Linked DNA regions of Homo sapiens: all the other regions are linked to region 3. The links are contacts of gene promoters, found by promoter capture Hi-C in blood cells and fetal thymus (Javierre and others, 2016). All regions are on one chromosome and are shown on one strand. The core of a region is centred on a gene start or on the middle of the fragment in contact, and the rest is flanking DNA. Distances in the headings are between cores, read along the strand shown.

Region 1 (3,048 bases), core at 486-2,985, 3.1 Mb before region 3:
ACGCGCCGCCCAGGGTCCCGCGGGGGCGGGGCCGAGGCGAGGAGGGGGATGCGCGGGGCGGGGAGTTTACGGGAAGCGCAGCCTCGGCGGGGCCCGGCCGGCGGCGGGGAGGTCGCGGGGCCGGGAGGCGCGAGGTAGGCGGGAGCCGCGGTGAGGAGGACGGTCGAACCCGTGGCTGAGGCCCAGCGCCGAGAAGCGGCAGGCAGAGTTCGGGGTCGGGGAGTTTATCCTGCGCTGGCCTCGGCAGGGGTCCCCGGGGTGGTTGATCCTCGACTGGCCCGGGAGGCGCCTGGGTCCGCGCGGGACCTCTCTGCCTCCTCCTCCGACCCGTGCGGGGCGGTCGGGGGCGCTCCCGAGGGGGTCCCGGGAAAGGCGGGGTCTGGCAGGGGGTCCTGGGCGCTGGGTCGTTCAGAAGCACGGCTTTACTCCAGTTACCCTCTTTTTATCCAAGGCCGGGGTTCCCCGGGTGCCTGGTAGCAGTGAAACCCCAAGTCCCTCGGTTAGGGGAGCCGTGACCCTGGGAGCTTTTGAGCTCTCTGGTATAACATCCTTTTACATCCTAAGAGACACAGTTCTGTGCTTGCTTAGGACTTTTTTCGTATGCGCCCTTTCTTCCCCCAAAAAACAAAAAACCGAAAAAACTTGTATGTCTCTCCCGCCCACCCGTACTTTCACTATTCATTTACCTCATAGAAGTTGGTCAAATTTTCCATTCGAAGACGAGTTTTATGCTGCGGTAGCTTCAAGCAATAAGTCGAACACTGTGTTGAAATTAAGTCTTGGATCCGACTACTTCCAGCGAAGTGAGGAGTTGGTCCAATAGAAATTATTTTCCAAAATGTGTTGTAATTCTCCTGTTGCTCCACAAATAAGGGGTTATCAGAGAGGAAAACGTTGACTGACTTCGCATTTCTGAAAGCTGGTTTGTAGTCGCCTTATTTCATCCTTACCCTTCTCTGGAAATGTGACATTAGTTCTGTTTGTGCTTAAGACAAAGGAAACAGCTGGCACCTTTCGGGAAGGTGGCTCCAGTACAGTTGTTTCCAGGTGTTAAGCTGTATGAGAAAGTAGAAAAGTAATCAGAAATCCTTACTAGTTTTCATTTAATCATTTAATTATTAATTTTAACCATCATTATTTGTCGTCTACTTGTTTTGTGTAAAATGAGTAATACACTCAAAGTTCTTGTTAATAGGAAATTATTGTTTGATAAAGCTGGCTTTATGGCTTGGTTATTTTGATACCTGCTATGAAATTCTATGTCCAGAAGAGTGCAGCATATCCAAGCAGGGTAATAAGTTCAGAAGGACTGAAAAAGAAAACAAAGATGATTTTTCTTTAATGATGGAAAGGCAATTTTTATTTCAAACGATTATGCATTTGTAGGTTGTGCATAGGCTGAAAGGTTTGAATCACTGTGAAATAATGTTTCTAACAACATCCTTAAAACTGAGTTACCTCTTGAATGGATAGATAAATAGGAACTGGGTTAACTACCCCAAACGCTAATCTCTTTATGATCATCCTTTTTTGGAATGATTTATTATTTTAAAAATTATGTTGTAAGAATGGAATTATAGCCCCGGAAATATTTAGAAGCTTTATTTCAAATTAATGTTATTAAGTATTCCAGCAAAACAATAAATTCCACTTTTAAGTATATGTTAAAATGGTGATAAATAAAAGTTATAACTTAATTCTATTTCTGACACTTTAATTTTGATACCAAATCAGTTTGGGCATTTAACTTCTGTAGTGGAAATATTAAAAATTTAGTACGTGGGTTTAAGGATTTTTTCCCCTAAAAACTTTAAATTTATCTATGTTGTTTCTACATCTTTTAAAGTAACTATTCTTTTTAAGTTCATCATGAAGCTTATTTTAAGATTTTTTTCTTATTTTCCGTATTTCTTAAATGACAGGGTTATACTTGCAGCCTGGCTTTGATAATATGTTAAACAAGAAGTTAACATGGGTGGTTGATTATAGGTACATATTAAAGGGTGTCTGTGTACATTAGGTGGGATAAGAACTATATAGGAACACCAATATTTGGGCCAGAGCAAATTTGAAAAATTCACAAAGAAGGTATCTGAAGAGGCATAGCAATCGAATTATGCATCCTCTTTAAAATAATCACATGAAGCCCTGTGTGCTCATGGTAAGGGAGGAGTAGAAAATAGTCAACAAGTAAAATTGTGCATTTTGTAGAAGCAAAATCGGACACTTTCCTCTGATTTCAGTACTACAAAGCACTTGACATTCTACCATTGAAAAAAGTACTTTGTACCCTGAGATAAAAATAAAGGTGATTGGTTCTTGTCTTTTAAGTAATGAAACCTTGACTTTGTCCCCTAAGTCAAGACTCCCTAGCCACATCTACCTGAAGGTAATGTCACCATCTTTATGAATGCAATGATAGTGCTGAAATTGCTGTTTCTCATTATGGATGGTCTAATGTAAACCTAAGAACCTTAGTAATTTTGTGGGATTTTTAAAAAAATACTTGCTATGTTTTTTTATTTGGCCAGCCAGTCCTTTTGAAGTATAACTCTCTTGTAATTTTTGCAGGTTTGCTTGCAAACTTAATTCTTACATTTTCCTTTTTCAATACTTAATGTTTTTGTGTATTTCTTTGATAATTTGTAAATTTTTGTGTTTCAAGATTATATCTTTGAATCAAGTAATTTTTTAAAAACCTGATCATCAGTGATACCACAAAACACTACAAAGAAATCCCCAAATAAATGTTGTTGCTTAGATTTTTCTACTTTCAAAAGAAATTACCAAAAGGTAGATTTAATTTTTACATTAACATGCCTAAAATGAAATATAGTAATAATTATGAGCAGACTTACAGAGGAAAAATTGGCAATATTTTTATAAAACTGATAAATTTATATTTTTATAAAATTATAAGTTCTCAAAAATTGAAGTGCAAAAACATTTCTTAGGAAGTTTCTAGGCAGTACTAGTTAGAAGTTTGTGGAAGAATCCTTTTGAGGATTTTTGTTCTCTTACTTTAAATAAAACTTAATCTAGTGAAAG
Region 2 (3,057 bases), core at 318-2,817, 4.9 Mb before region 3:
AATAGGAGAGAAAGAATGCTGACCACTAGGCAAGGAGAGGATGTTTAACTGACATTCATATTGATATAGATATAATGGGCACTGTCAATGACAACGAGTAATGATGATTTCTTAGGAAAGCATGTTCAGAGTTTTGCACATCACTGATTATCCCATTTTTATCTATTACACTTTTTGAAAAGAAAGACCCATTCTCTTAAATTGCCTAGTTAGAAAGTACTCTTTATGCAATAATGTTAATCTATCTTGATTTCTAAATATTTTAATAATGTCCTTTTTAAATTTTCTGCACAATATGATATTTTTGTTTTTTTGAACCACAGCCACTCCACCCTCACCCACACCCAGGATCAGAGATTAAAGCAAATGATTCTTTACACTCTCTCAAAAATAAATCCAGACTTTGGAAAATTACACAGTAATGTACAAGCATATAAAAACTCAAGGTCAGAAGTAATTTCAATAATTGCAGGGAGCTCTCTGGAGGTATCTGCCTGTAATTTAACAACCAACTATGGATGTAAACCGAGACAGTGATACTATCGTTATGCACCACGAAATTTTCCTAAGAGCTTTGATCAGATTCCCCTAAATAGTTTATGCATGTCTCTGTATGCAATCATAGGCGCTGACCTGGAATAATTAAAATGAAAATAATCAGTGCTGTATCTGTCTTAACATATACAAATTCGGTTTATCAATGTGAAAGCAGATCTGCAAAACTCAGTTGTCAAAAGGTGGCCTACGGTATTTTCATGACAGAGAATCTTTGTTAGGTTTGTTAATGTAACATGTGCAATGGAGGCTGGTGTATGTAATTAGTTTCCTCCTCAGAGAGATACTAGGAAGGTGGACGACAGTACCCCGGGAACTCACACGTCGGTCTAGGGCCCTTTTTGTCCCCCACCCTCACCTCACTCCTCAGACATGCACTCTCCCATCACATTTGAAGCCCCGGTGGGCAGTTTTCTAGGGTCGTTTCACTGGAGCGTTAAATGGCATCTGACGCCACCGGGCAGCCTGGGGTTGGATGCCATAGCCGCCAGCACCCACGGCTCACCTCCAGCTTGTGGTTGATTTGAGACACAGACTGGGCTTTGTGGCAAAGCTGTGCAAAGCAGGAGCTCAGGCTGGTCATCTTCTGTCGCCCCTCATAAGTGATGTCCGCTTGGTCTGGATCGATCTCTCCCAGGAGCAGATCCACATCCACAAAAGCTTTGTCGAACTCCTTCTCCAGCACCTCCAGCCACCGGAACATGGATACCCCGCCAGGGGCCCCCACGGAGCAGGAGGCGCCCCCTGGGCCCCCTCCGGCTGCTGCTGGGCATGGACCGCCCGCCGACATGGCGCCGTCAAGGGCCTCTCCCGACTGCTGAAGACCCTCGCCGCCCCCCGCGCACGAAGGGAACTGCTGGGACTGAGGGGACCCCCGCGCGCGCGGGCACACTCCGTCACCTCCCTTCACCTCGCGCCGTTAACGCCAGCAGCACAGTCACAGAACCGCAGGAGTAACGAGGCTGAAGCTGAGGCGGCAACGGCGGCGACACACGGAAGACTCAGTCAGTCCCACCTCCCAGCCTGCCCCCGCTGCGCATGCGTAGCGAAGAGCTGGGCGGACGCAGCCACGAGGGACAAAATAGGCGGGGACAGGATGCGATCTTGGCCTATGAAAGGCCTCAGCTTGGGAGCGGCCTGTCAGCGGCCATATTAACAACTGGCAAACTACGGCTTGAATCCCTGAGAAACGGAGGCGCGTGGTTTCTGCACCCTGGTTGGAAAGGCCCGAGGATGAGAAAGGTGTCCACGTCGCAGAAAGGAAGGATTTCCGCCGGTTTGACTTAACAGTTGGCGGGAGCCGTTCCAAAATCCTCCCAGAAAGTTGCTGCGGTGGCATCTAGGGTCAGGGAGGGGAGAGCAAGGAAGGGCGGTGTGAGCATGCGCAATAGCCACGTTTTTACCTTCTCGATTCCAGTTCCTGGATAGGATGGAGTGGGTGTACACACTGGCTGTTCTTGGTAAACCAGACCCCAAATTCCAGGTGTGGACTGCCTAAAGCTGCGCATTGAAGCGGCTGACCAGATTTTGCGGAATTAATAGAAGACTTTTTGTCTTGTGATTAAGAGTCAGGTAGACCTGGATTCAATTCTTACCCTCTGTCACATACTACCTGTGTCGCCTTTCATGTATTAACCTCGAAACCAAGTTTCCAAATTTTACTTAACTCAGTTGTAAGGTAAAACGCTTAGCGTCACTTCTTGGCACACGGTATTCCTCTTAATACACCATAGGTCACACATTTCAAAAGCAACTACAGTAGTGCTTCACTTAAGATGGGGATATGTTCTTAGGAATGTGTCCTTAGGTTAATCATCCCTTAGGGAACATCCTAGAGTGTATTTAAACACAAACCTAGATAGTATAGCCTACTACACACCCAGGCTATATGATGTAGCCTATTGCTCTTAGGCTGTAAACCTGTACAGCATGTTGCCATTCTGGATACGGTAGGCGATTATAACACAGTGGTAACTATTTGTGTACTTAAACATATCTAAACATAGAAAAGGTACAGTCATATACTCTTATAGGATCACCATAGTTTATGCGATCCATTCATTGCTGAAGCCTTGTTATTTGGCACATAACTGTACTTTAAAAGGTGTATTTATTTGAAAACTGGTAGTGTCCTCACACGTGACATTTCAGAAAATCAAAATTGTGAATTCATATATTTACAAATATATTGAATGCAGAGCTCTGTTGCGACATTGAAGACACAAAAATGAATGAGACATGACCCTTACTCAAGATAGGCTAGTGAGGCTACTACCCCTCAACTATAACTTTAACTTGAATTTTTCAGTGCCTTTAAAAGTATCCAGCAACTCCTCTCTTTACATTCTGCCTACTTCCAGTTCAAGGGTAGACAGTCCTAGAAAGGGAAAGAGAAACCTGTGTGATTAGAGTAGGCTGGTGGAAACTCCTGCATTACCTAGAAGCATATTTAGCTGAGTGCAGTCTGCTGTTATCTGTTCTTGGGGCAGACCCTTACGGTTA
Region 3 (3,346 bases), core at 332-2,831:
TGCTTCTACCTTTTTAATGTACTTCGCTATTAACACAGAAACTAAAAGGCAGGGTCAATTTTATCACGGACATTCTTCTAATCAATAAAGGTGGCGATCTATTTTGTAAAAGGGAAAACATGTATCTCATCTTTTAAATCTCTATTATATACAAAAAACTACAGCACGCCCACTTCATAACTGGACAAGATACGACATTACAAATTGAATTGCATAACATCTTCCAATAAAAAACCGATGAAAACAATCTTATATGATAATCAATTATCAGTTTTCAAAACTGTTTATCACACTAAATATGCCTCTTTTGTATAAAAGTCAATAATTAAACTCTCTAATATCTTGAGATAAAATATTCCAGGCTTCCGTGCAAGAAGAAATACCATATAATCAAAAGAACAGACTGGCTGGAGTAACAATCCCCACATTATTATTTGATTAAAATTCAACATTTTTAGTTCAAGACATATCAAAACCTTTAAGAGTATATATAACGGAATCATTTGGGAAGTCAGAAAAGCAATTGTTAGAAACAGAATTAACAAATTCCAGACTAAAGAAAAGTGATTTGAGTCCAAATACCTCGCCTAAAATTACAAATATCTTTATTAACTGCACTGCCAATGTTTTGCCTACTATTTTGGAGGGGGCAGAGATTATCTTAAATAAACTGAAATTTGTGCCACACGGACCAAAGTCTTGCCACTATACTGAAAATAGTTTTACTCTAACAACTCTTTAATGAAAATGCAATGTACAGCTAATTAAGCATGAAATTTCAGATGACACACGCATGTTTTGTGCCTAAAGACAAAATTGTCATTAGGCACAAGGCATGCGTGTGTCATCTGAAATTTCAATTTTAAGTTGAAATCTGAAATTGACACTTCAAACAGTTACGGCAGAGCTATGACTATTTGTTTCAAAAACAATATTACTACATTAGCATTACTGCCAGGCGGTTCCAAATGACGACAGGCACTTTTTAATCATAATCTGCGCCACTGAACAAAGAGGGCGACATGAATCCAGGAACGACAGTGCGGCAGTCTGAGGTCGCCAGGAAAGAGATGACAACAGAGTGGGTACCCCACCGAAGGAAAGGGGCAAAGACCTTTGTAGAGATGGCCTGCGCAGATACAAACAAAACCACGAAAAGGGACCTCAAAGAATGGGAGACAGCGTTCACGAAGCAGGGGTGGGGGAGGGGCCCTATTCTAGTTCTCTTCCTCAATTTGAGTCATCTTCCCATCGCCACTAAACCTTACGGCCAGTGATCAGTTCTTCGCAAGACCCAAAGCTCTGAAGCTGAGTCTGAGTGACGAGAGGAGACGGGAAGAAAACGGGGACAGAGAGGGCACTCCCTGTTGGGTGGGGCACCACATTCCCGCCGGGCTCACCCAGCCCCGGCTCGGATCGCCTTCTCTTTGGTCTCTCACACTAGCACCCCAGAGGCCGCAAAAAGCACCTTACCCAGCTCGCCATGGAGCACAGCCCCAGGACGCTCCCCATCTCCACAACGTCACAAGAGCAGCGGATACAGACAAGATGGAGACAGCTTCTTTCTCGCCTTTCCGAGATTATTTACTATCTGCGAGACACTTCCGGACGCACAGCGCAACCCGCCCCTCAGCCTCGCGTCACTTCCTTCCAGGCCTGGGTAGGATAAAACACGGAGCGCGCAGCGCTGAGACTGCGCATGCGCGTCACTAGACGACACGGCTGTCTTCTTTCCTGGAGAATTTCTCAAGGACTGCTGGCTGGAAACTTAACGGCTAATGTGGATCTGACCGTAGTTTGCCAAATTAAGAAAACGGTGTGAGCAAAACCCACCTTTACCTACCATGCACTTGCATTTGGGCATTAGTAGAGAACAGAGCTGAGGTGGTGGTTGACGTTTTGCCCTCCTTCATCTGAGGAACCTCTCTGCTTTTTAGGGGATTGCTTCCTCTTTCTCAGTCTTTGTCCGTCCTAACTCCACTTATTTCCCATTTTTCCCACGTTTGCATCCTGTTTTGCTCTTGCGTTTGCAACGTATTCCTGCAGCCCGCTGCCCGGAACAAGTTTTATTGGGATATTTATATTCATCTGTGTGCTTCAGTTTCTCTGTATCATTTCTGTTTGCTATTGACTTATATTTTAATTTCTTATGCTATTAAGATGTTACAAGAAATTTGCACGTTAAAATTATTTTTAATTAGTTAGATAAGACATTATCAAACTCAAACATTGATTTCGAATGTCATGAGCTGTTGAGGCATGTGGAACCCTTGCATATTAGGTGATGATGCACATCTGCAGGGAATGCATTCCTATAAAAGTTCCAGTTATTTTTTTAGAGTTATTTGTTCTTGAAAATATTCTGGGAAACAGCTCAAACTTGAAATAGTCATTCCCATAACTAATAATAAGAAAGTGTTGTAAAATCTACAAAAATTGCATGGGTCGAGGTGGGGTAAACACCTAAGAATCTGGAAGAATGTCAGAATCCCTACTCCTAGTTATTGTAACCACTAAGGGACAATCTTGCTTTATTCTTCTTTGCCTTATCTGTGGTTTTGTAGACCACTCTTAAAGCAAAGTATTATAATAGAGCATCCATAAGGTTTAAAGAATTGTGGAAATGCTTGTAATCCCAGAACTTTGGGAGGCTGAGGCAGGCGGGTCACAAGGCCAGGAGTTCAAGACCAGCCTGGCCAGCATGGTGAAACCCCATCTCTACTAAAAATACAAAAAATTAGCCGGGCATGGTGGCACGCGCATGTAATCCCAGCTACTCGGGAGGCGAGGCAGGAGAACTGCTTGAACCCGGGAGGCAGAGGTTGCAGTGAGCCGAGATTGGGCCACTGCACTCCAGCCTGGGCTGCAGAGCGAGACTCCGTCTCAAAAAAAAAGAATAGTGGAAATGGAAATTACAAACCTAACAATATTTTTAATTATGCTAAACTTAATACGTTATTTATGGGAGAAGAGAATCCTAGTATCTCAAGTCCTTAAACTTTTCAAAGTACCAGAGAAGGAGACAAAAAACACTTATATGTGAGTAACTTTAAGGTCGTAAAGAATATGTTTATTAGCCAAATGGAGAATGGGTCTCTTAAAATTTAAATTTGCACAGATTCTTGTCTCTTGCTCCATTTAAGAGGGTTTCTGAGATATTCATAAGTTCTTGCACTATTCAATAGAGTTTTTTCACCTGAGATATTCAGAGTTAAATACAAAAGTCATATTAATCTTTCTGGAATGTAACACTTGGCCTTGAAATACATTAAAAAAAATTTACTTTTATTTAACCTGTAGGCTATGTGGAGTGGAATTTGCTCACTTAAGTTATTATATATACAAC
Region 4 (3,013 bases), core at 259-2,758, 3.4 Mb before region 3:
ATATTTGTATTTTTTACATCAAAAATACATTAAGAAATAAAATAGCTTTTTGAAGCAGTTTAAAGGGCAGTCAATAAACATTTACATATTTAGGAATAATTTAACTCAGCTGAAATGATCTATCATTAACCCAGAAGAGTAGCAGATACAATTCCTAAAAAGTACTGTCTTTCTCTGCTGTATAACAAAATTACTTGCTGTATCATTATGACCACCATCTTCTTCAGTAAATACTTATTAAGCTTTGGTACTATGTGCAAACCATTCATATTAAGGTTACATGTAATAAAAGATACAGTCCCTAGAGCTGAGAACCTTACAGTCAAATTATGAAAACAAAGTATATTTATAAACACAATAAACAGTATTTGCAAGTTTGCATTATTAAGTATCAAGTAAGAGGTACCAACAATCAATGCTAACGCACAGCAAGGAAAGCCCAACAAGGGTAGCTGGTCAGGACAGTTTTAGTAGAAGAGCCATAAGCTGGGTATTAAATAAGAGGACTTGATGCTAAGCACAGAAAACACAAAATAAACTACTTCCTGCTGTTTGGGAACTTACACTGTACCATATATTACTTATGTCTATACTAGTTAAGTGATAAACAGACTCTGTATCAAAAGTGCAATCAACTAAAGAGGGATTTGATAAGCAGCTAACATAACAAGGTATTAAAAGGGAAGTTTCTGCTGAGAACCAGAGACGATAGAAATGACATTCCAAAGCAGCTGCCAGAACATTCTCGAAAATGTCAAGAGGCAGTCTAAAGAAGAGTGCTGAGATGTGTTACTTTCCACCCCCACCACTAGTGAGGTGGTGCTTCAAGAAGATTACAGAGTAGGTTTCAGAGATTTCCCTGGGGAGAGCTGTGGTAACAGGGGCCTGTGTCTTCAAGGGGGAAGGGTGGAAGATGCTTGTCCCACACCTAAAGCCTAGGGAAAAAGGCTTTGAGGGAATGACTTGAAGAACTTGACATGTGCCTCAAGCACTTTGAAGAACATGCTAACCTGGTACCTGATTAATCCCCAGAAAATCTAAATGATGAGAAGCTGCATGAAGAGGCATGTGAGAACAAGAGAGAGGGCTGAACTGGGACCACTAGCAGAGTTTGTGCAAAGAATGAGTGCTCCCTATGTGGCCTCTACGGAAGAGTGAACAACCTGGGGTGGGATCACACAAGTCCATGCAAGAGGGGTATCTAGAGTTTGCACAGACCTCAGCAAAGTGGAGGTGAAGGTACTGCTAGCTCCAAGAGGCTGAGGAAGGAGTAAGCAACCAATCAGCGCATAAGGGAATTCTCACTGTCAAGGAATTGAGGTGAAAATCTAGAGCCACTGAGGTGGGAGGTAGAAGATTCACCAGTGAAAGAATAAGCTTTAAACATCTGCAACGGCTACAAAAGCACTGAAACTAGATCACCAGCTAGCTTCTTCACTAATCAAGTAAAAGTTTGCTGCTCCTCTTTACTCTTTTCACTTCTTCCTTGACCAACTTTGGAAGGGTGAGAAACCAGAACTGGCAAGACAAAGCAGGAAGAGTAGAAAAACCAGGTAAGAAGTAAAAAGGCAATAATACCCCCTTCCCTAGTTACTGGTTTCCCCCTTGCAAGAGACAGAGCAAGAGACCAGTTAAGGGAGAAGCTTCATCTTTATTTCAGGCTTGGTCTGCAGTTTTTACTTGTTGGTACTGGGCATTTTAATTTTAATAATCAAATTGAGACTTTTGTGACTTTGTTACTGAAGGATGATTTGTATTATCTAAAAGCAACCAGAAAAATTAAGTTAACCCATGAAAGAGGATGAACCAGTCTCAAAGAGTAAATTGAAAGAGACAAAAAGGGAAAAAAAGTAATTTGAAAGTGACAAAAAAAAAGCTTTTATAATTACATCCCACAAGGCCTGCTTTTCAACCTGATATCCTGAAAAGTCAACACAGTGGAGAGCACAGAAGTATACAAATGTGGTCTTATAAAACATAATTGAATCCATCCAGCTTCACTGCCTATCTTGAGATAGTTCAGCCATTAACATTTGCAGAAACTTGCCATAATGTAGCTCAAGAATCTAATATTAATTCTTAAAACTTGACACGAGTGACCCAAATATGCTAGACTTCCTTTAAAAGGCAGGGACTGTGTCTTGCTCCCTGCTGTATCTGTAACATTTTCCAAAGTCTCCCTTACATAAAAGGTGCTTAAAGAACTGGTGTTCTCCTTACCATGAGAAGGCAGCTATGTTAGGCTCTTAGGAAATAGGATATGAACAAATATGCATACAGCAAAGACTGCTTTTTAATTAAAAATATATTGAGCTTTGCTATGGGCAAAATTATAATCTTTATTACTTTTCATGCTTATCCTTTCATAGCCAGCCAAACCTTTGAAACATGCACAATGTATTTTCAGAACATTCTACCACAATGCAGAATAAATGTGAAACCTTTAAACTTTGATATTCGAAGGAGAAAAAAAACTACTATATATACATTTTTAAAGAGTTTAGCAGAAAACCCTCAAAATAAGTACACTATCACACAACGCTGTTAAATGCAGAATGGTTTAAAAGGAGAGAAGCATTTTTAAAATATCCATATTTTATTAATACTCATATTGGTATATGTCTTTTCAGTGAGTGACAGCCTGAATGAAGAGCCTACTATGTGCCGCTACAACTCTGTAAAATAGGTACTATCATCCCTATTTTAAAGATGAGGAAACTGAGGCTCAGTGTTTCATGGCTTGCTCAAGGTCACAATAGTAGTAAGTGGTGGAGTGAGAATTTTAACTCAGTGTGTCAGGTTCCCACACTGCTCTTAAGTGTGCTGCTGCTATAATGCTGAAGAGTTGAGTTCTACTGACTTCTTTCCAAAAGAAATAAAATCCAATTTTAATTGTTACATTTACAGTGTACAATTATGAAATATTAGCCATTGTCAAGTTCCAACCATAGTTGGAACACACCTCTGCTAATATGAATAAACTCTTCATGAGTAAAAATTCTATATGGCAGGC
Region 5 (3,101 bases), core at 592-3,091, 3.3 Mb after region 3:
AATTAATAGGCCATGATCAAAACCTTAATGATTTTCTCCTTTGATTCCTATTCAACTGTCATAGAAACAGTCTTGTTCACTTTTCTATACCTGTGCATGCAAAGATGACTGGCATGGAGTAAGAATTACATAAGTGTTTGCTAAATTGATGAATGAATGACAATAACTCTGTGAAGTATGCACGGATGCATGCAAGTTAGTGTCTCTCTTGTACTCCTTAGGATCCAGAGGCTCAGAGAGCTGGGTCACTTAACCCAGATAATGCAGCTGATATTGGCACAGTCAGGGTTAATTCACAGTCTCTGGCTCTGGAATAACAGATCTTATTTTCATAAGATCTCTTTTTCTTCGCTATATTCGCCCTTCTGCAGCGTGTAGGTCATAAATAAGGTTGTTGTCTCTCACATTAGTCCCTCAACACCTTGAATCATGTTTCTGGCAATGATCTCCTGGATAGACTTCCTTACTGTGGTATGGGCTCCACCAGTCTGTTCTGTACCCAACAGTCACTGTCTTACCATCTGACTGTGCTTAATCTCCTCCGTTTTCTCCTTGATCTCTTTACAGTATGCTCTTTTCTTCACCGCTACTTCCTTCTTGAAGCTCTCTTATCCTTTTATTACTACCTCTCTGACTACTCTTCCTTTTTTTTTTTTTTTTTTTTTTTTTTGAGACAGAGTCTCTCTGTCGCCCAGGCTGGAGGTCAGTGGTGCGATCTTCTTGGCTCACTGCAAGCTCCGCCTCCCACGTTCACGCCATTATCCTGCCTCAGCCTCCCAAGTAGCTGGGACTACAGGCGCCCACCACCACAAGGGCTATGTATTTTTTTTAGTAGAGACGGGGTTTCACCGTGTTAGCCAGGATGGTCTCGATCTCCTGACCTCATGATCCTCCCGTTTCGGCCTCCCAAAGTGCTGGGATTACAGGCGTGAGCCACCGCGCCCGGCCCCTCTCTGACTACTCTTTCACCATTTTCTACCTCTTCCCCTTCTTCTTTAATGTATACTCTCCTGGGTTTTTTCCTTGGTCCTCTCTCCTTTTTATAGGTTTTTTCTTTGGGAAGAGCTCAAATCTTCTCAAACTTTTAAGTTAATGGCTCCAAAATCTCTCCCTTCTACCCTAATTATCACCAAAATTCCCATTCTGTATTTCCAACCACATTTAGTTGTGCTGCCTCTGTGGGGCTCAAACTGAACTTACCTTCTCTTCTTCATCAGTTTCTCCATCTCAACCTTCCTATTACTTTTAATGCCACCCCAGTTTTACTAGCCACACAGAACAAATCAAGGATTCATAACTGATTCCTCCCTATTCTTAACCCTTTATATCCTATCAGACATCGAGTCCTCTTGGGTTCCCTTCGTAATTTCTTGACTTGTCTTAAGGTCTTCCATAATCTAGCTGCAGTCACCTATCTGCCCTCATCTCCACTGTTCCCCAGCGCAGGTTCCCTACTACAGCCAGTCTGACACAGTTAGTCCTTTTCGTTGCAAATACTAGACCATGGTCATCCTGGATCCCTTAGAAGCAATGTCCATTCTCCTTTTCTCAGGCATTCCGGATACTTCTAGCCTTTAGGTCCAGCTTGAAAAACAGTTTTCAAGCTCTATTTTGATTCTAGTGCTCACTTCCTTCTCCCTTCTTTTACCATATATCGTGATTATTTGAAGTACTTGATATGCAGCAAATAATCAATGAATGGTGCCAATTATTTTTGTTAATGGTGGCAACATATTTTTGTCTTAATTATCCAATGAAGTGAAAGCTTCTTAAGCACCAAAAATCACATCTTTTCTTAACCCCATGGCACCTATCACAATGGACTTCCTGGAACATTAAGTACTCAGCATTCTCCTCTTCCCAATCAGTCTCAGCACAGCTAAAAGGAGAGCAAAACAAACTCATTTTAGTTGCAATCAAGCTTTCAGTCTGTTTCTATGCTATGATGAAATTTCTCCTTAAAAAAAAAAGGCGGGGCCGGGCGCGGTGGCTCACGCCTGTAATCCCAGCACTTTGGGAGGCCAAGACAGGAGGATCACGAGGTCAGGAGATCGAGATCATCCTGGCTAACACGGTGAAGCCCCGTCTCTACAAAAAATACAAAAAAAAAATAGCCGGGCCTGGTGGCGGGCGCCTGTAGTCCCAGCTACTCGGGAGGCTGAGGCATGAGAATGGCATGAACCCGGGAGGCGGAGCTTGCAGTGAGCCAAGATCGCGCCACTGCACTCCAGCCTGGGCGACAGAGAGAGACTCCGTCTCAAATTAAAAAAAAAAAAAAAAAAATCCAACAGCTCAGTAAGTGGCAAAGGTTAGGATGGTTTAGAACTTTCAGGATCAAAAAAACCCTTAATGTCTATATAACACTATTTTTCTTTTTTTGACTCCAACATTGCCATATTTTCCTTTGAGGAACTCCCAGAATTCTACTTTACCCTGAATGTGGGAATTACTAATGATAAGTAGGTGCATTTTTGAGGGGCCTATATGGTTTATATAGTGGGAATTGATACTCTGGATGTAACACATTTACCATATTTGTGTAAATCTCTTAGAGAAAATTTAAAGTTAGCCAAAAAAACATTAACTAAATGGGTTATTAAAACACAATAAACTAGCTATGTCCAACCATACATCTCAGAAAAGATCTCATATTTATAGAGATGAGAGTAGGAATAGCTCCAATATAGGCAAATAATCTCCAAAGTACATAATCTTAATGTACAGAAAAACTAAAAATTAACTCTAAGCATGATACTGAATAAGTATTATTCCTCATAAAACTATCTTCCTCTTTTATTAGTCAAACAAAATCAAGGTTAAACAAAGGCTTAACTGACTGCTTGTAAACACATCCAAATTATTTTTAAAAACTGAAAAATACAATTTTAGAATCACAGAACTTTATGTTATTTGATTGATTATAAATTACATTACCTGTAAATAGAGATGGCGTATTTTAAGCCTTAGATTAAATAAACTTTTAAAACGGTCAATTTTTAATGATTAAAAAACCCCAACAAGCGAATGAAAAGTACATAAAACTTATGATTTAAAAAGAAAAAAAAAACTATAAAGAAAAAAAAAAACTATGAAAAAAAAAC

Evidence for each region. The method cuts DNA at HindIII sites, captures the fragments that hold promoters and counts their contacts. A CHiCAGO score of 5 or more calls a contact.
Region 1: a contact is called between a fragment that was not itself captured here and the fragment with the promoter of SERINC1 in region 3, in 3 of 17 cell types (non-activated CD4 T cells, fetal thymus and total B cells). The highest score is 11.9, in non-activated CD4 T cells.
Region 2: the fragment with the promoter of GOPC here is called in contact with the fragment with the promoter of SERINC1 in region 3 in 2 of 17 cell types (non-activated CD4 T cells and total CD4 T cells); the score reaches 6.7 in non-activated CD4 T cells.
Region 4: a contact is called between a fragment that was not itself captured here and the fragment with the promoter of SERINC1 in region 3, in 1 of 17 cell types (activated CD4 T cells). The highest score is 5.8, in activated CD4 T cells.
Region 5: a fragment that was not itself captured here is called in contact with the fragment with the promoter of SERINC1 in region 3 in 1 of 17 cell types (total CD4 T cells); the score reaches 6.9 in total CD4 T cells.

The regions. Positions count from the first base shown.
Region 1 is chr6:119,349,841-119,352,888 of GRCh38, forward strand. It overlaps a transcript of MAN1A1 not described here. Among named protein-coding and RNA genes, the nearest start is that of MAN1A1, 1.6 kb to the left of the region's middle. RefSeq lists a silencer at 1-481. The HindIII fragment of the contact is 276 bases long and covers 1,598-1,873 here.
Region 2 is chr6:117,600,944-117,604,000 of GRCh38, forward strand. It overlaps GOPC (golgi associated PDZ and coiled-coil motif containing), which reads right to left and starts at 1,568. Exons shown (of 9, transcript NM_020399.4): 1 at 1,061-1,568. The coding sequence starts at 1,345. It also overlaps the pseudogene NEPNP. RefSeq lists enhancers at 1,450-1,539, 1,670-1,959. The HindIII fragment of the contact is 3,398 bases long and covers 1,214-3,057 here.
Region 3 is chr6:122,470,226-122,473,571 of GRCh38, forward strand. SERINC1 (serine incorporator 1) reads right to left here and starts at 1,582. Exons shown (of 10, transcript NM_020755.4): 1 at 1,474-1,582. The coding sequence starts at 1,512. It also overlaps a transcript of PKIB not described here. RefSeq lists enhancers at 1,232-1,631, 1,682-1,741. The HindIII fragment of the contact is 8,379 bases long and covers 1-3,346 here.
Region 4 is chr6:119,072,738-119,075,750 of GRCh38, forward strand. All of the region lies in intron 1 of FAM184A (family with sequence similarity 184 member A), which reads right to left. Among named protein-coding and RNA genes, the nearest start is that of FAM184A, 4.4 kb to the right of the region's middle. The HindIII fragment of the contact is 266 bases long and covers 1,376-1,641 here.
Region 5 is chr6:125,777,067-125,780,167 of GRCh38, forward strand. No RefSeq gene overlaps it. Among named protein-coding and RNA genes, the nearest start is that of TRE-CTC1-7, 1.7 kb to the right of the region's middle. The HindIII fragment of the contact is 156 bases long and covers 1,764-1,919 here.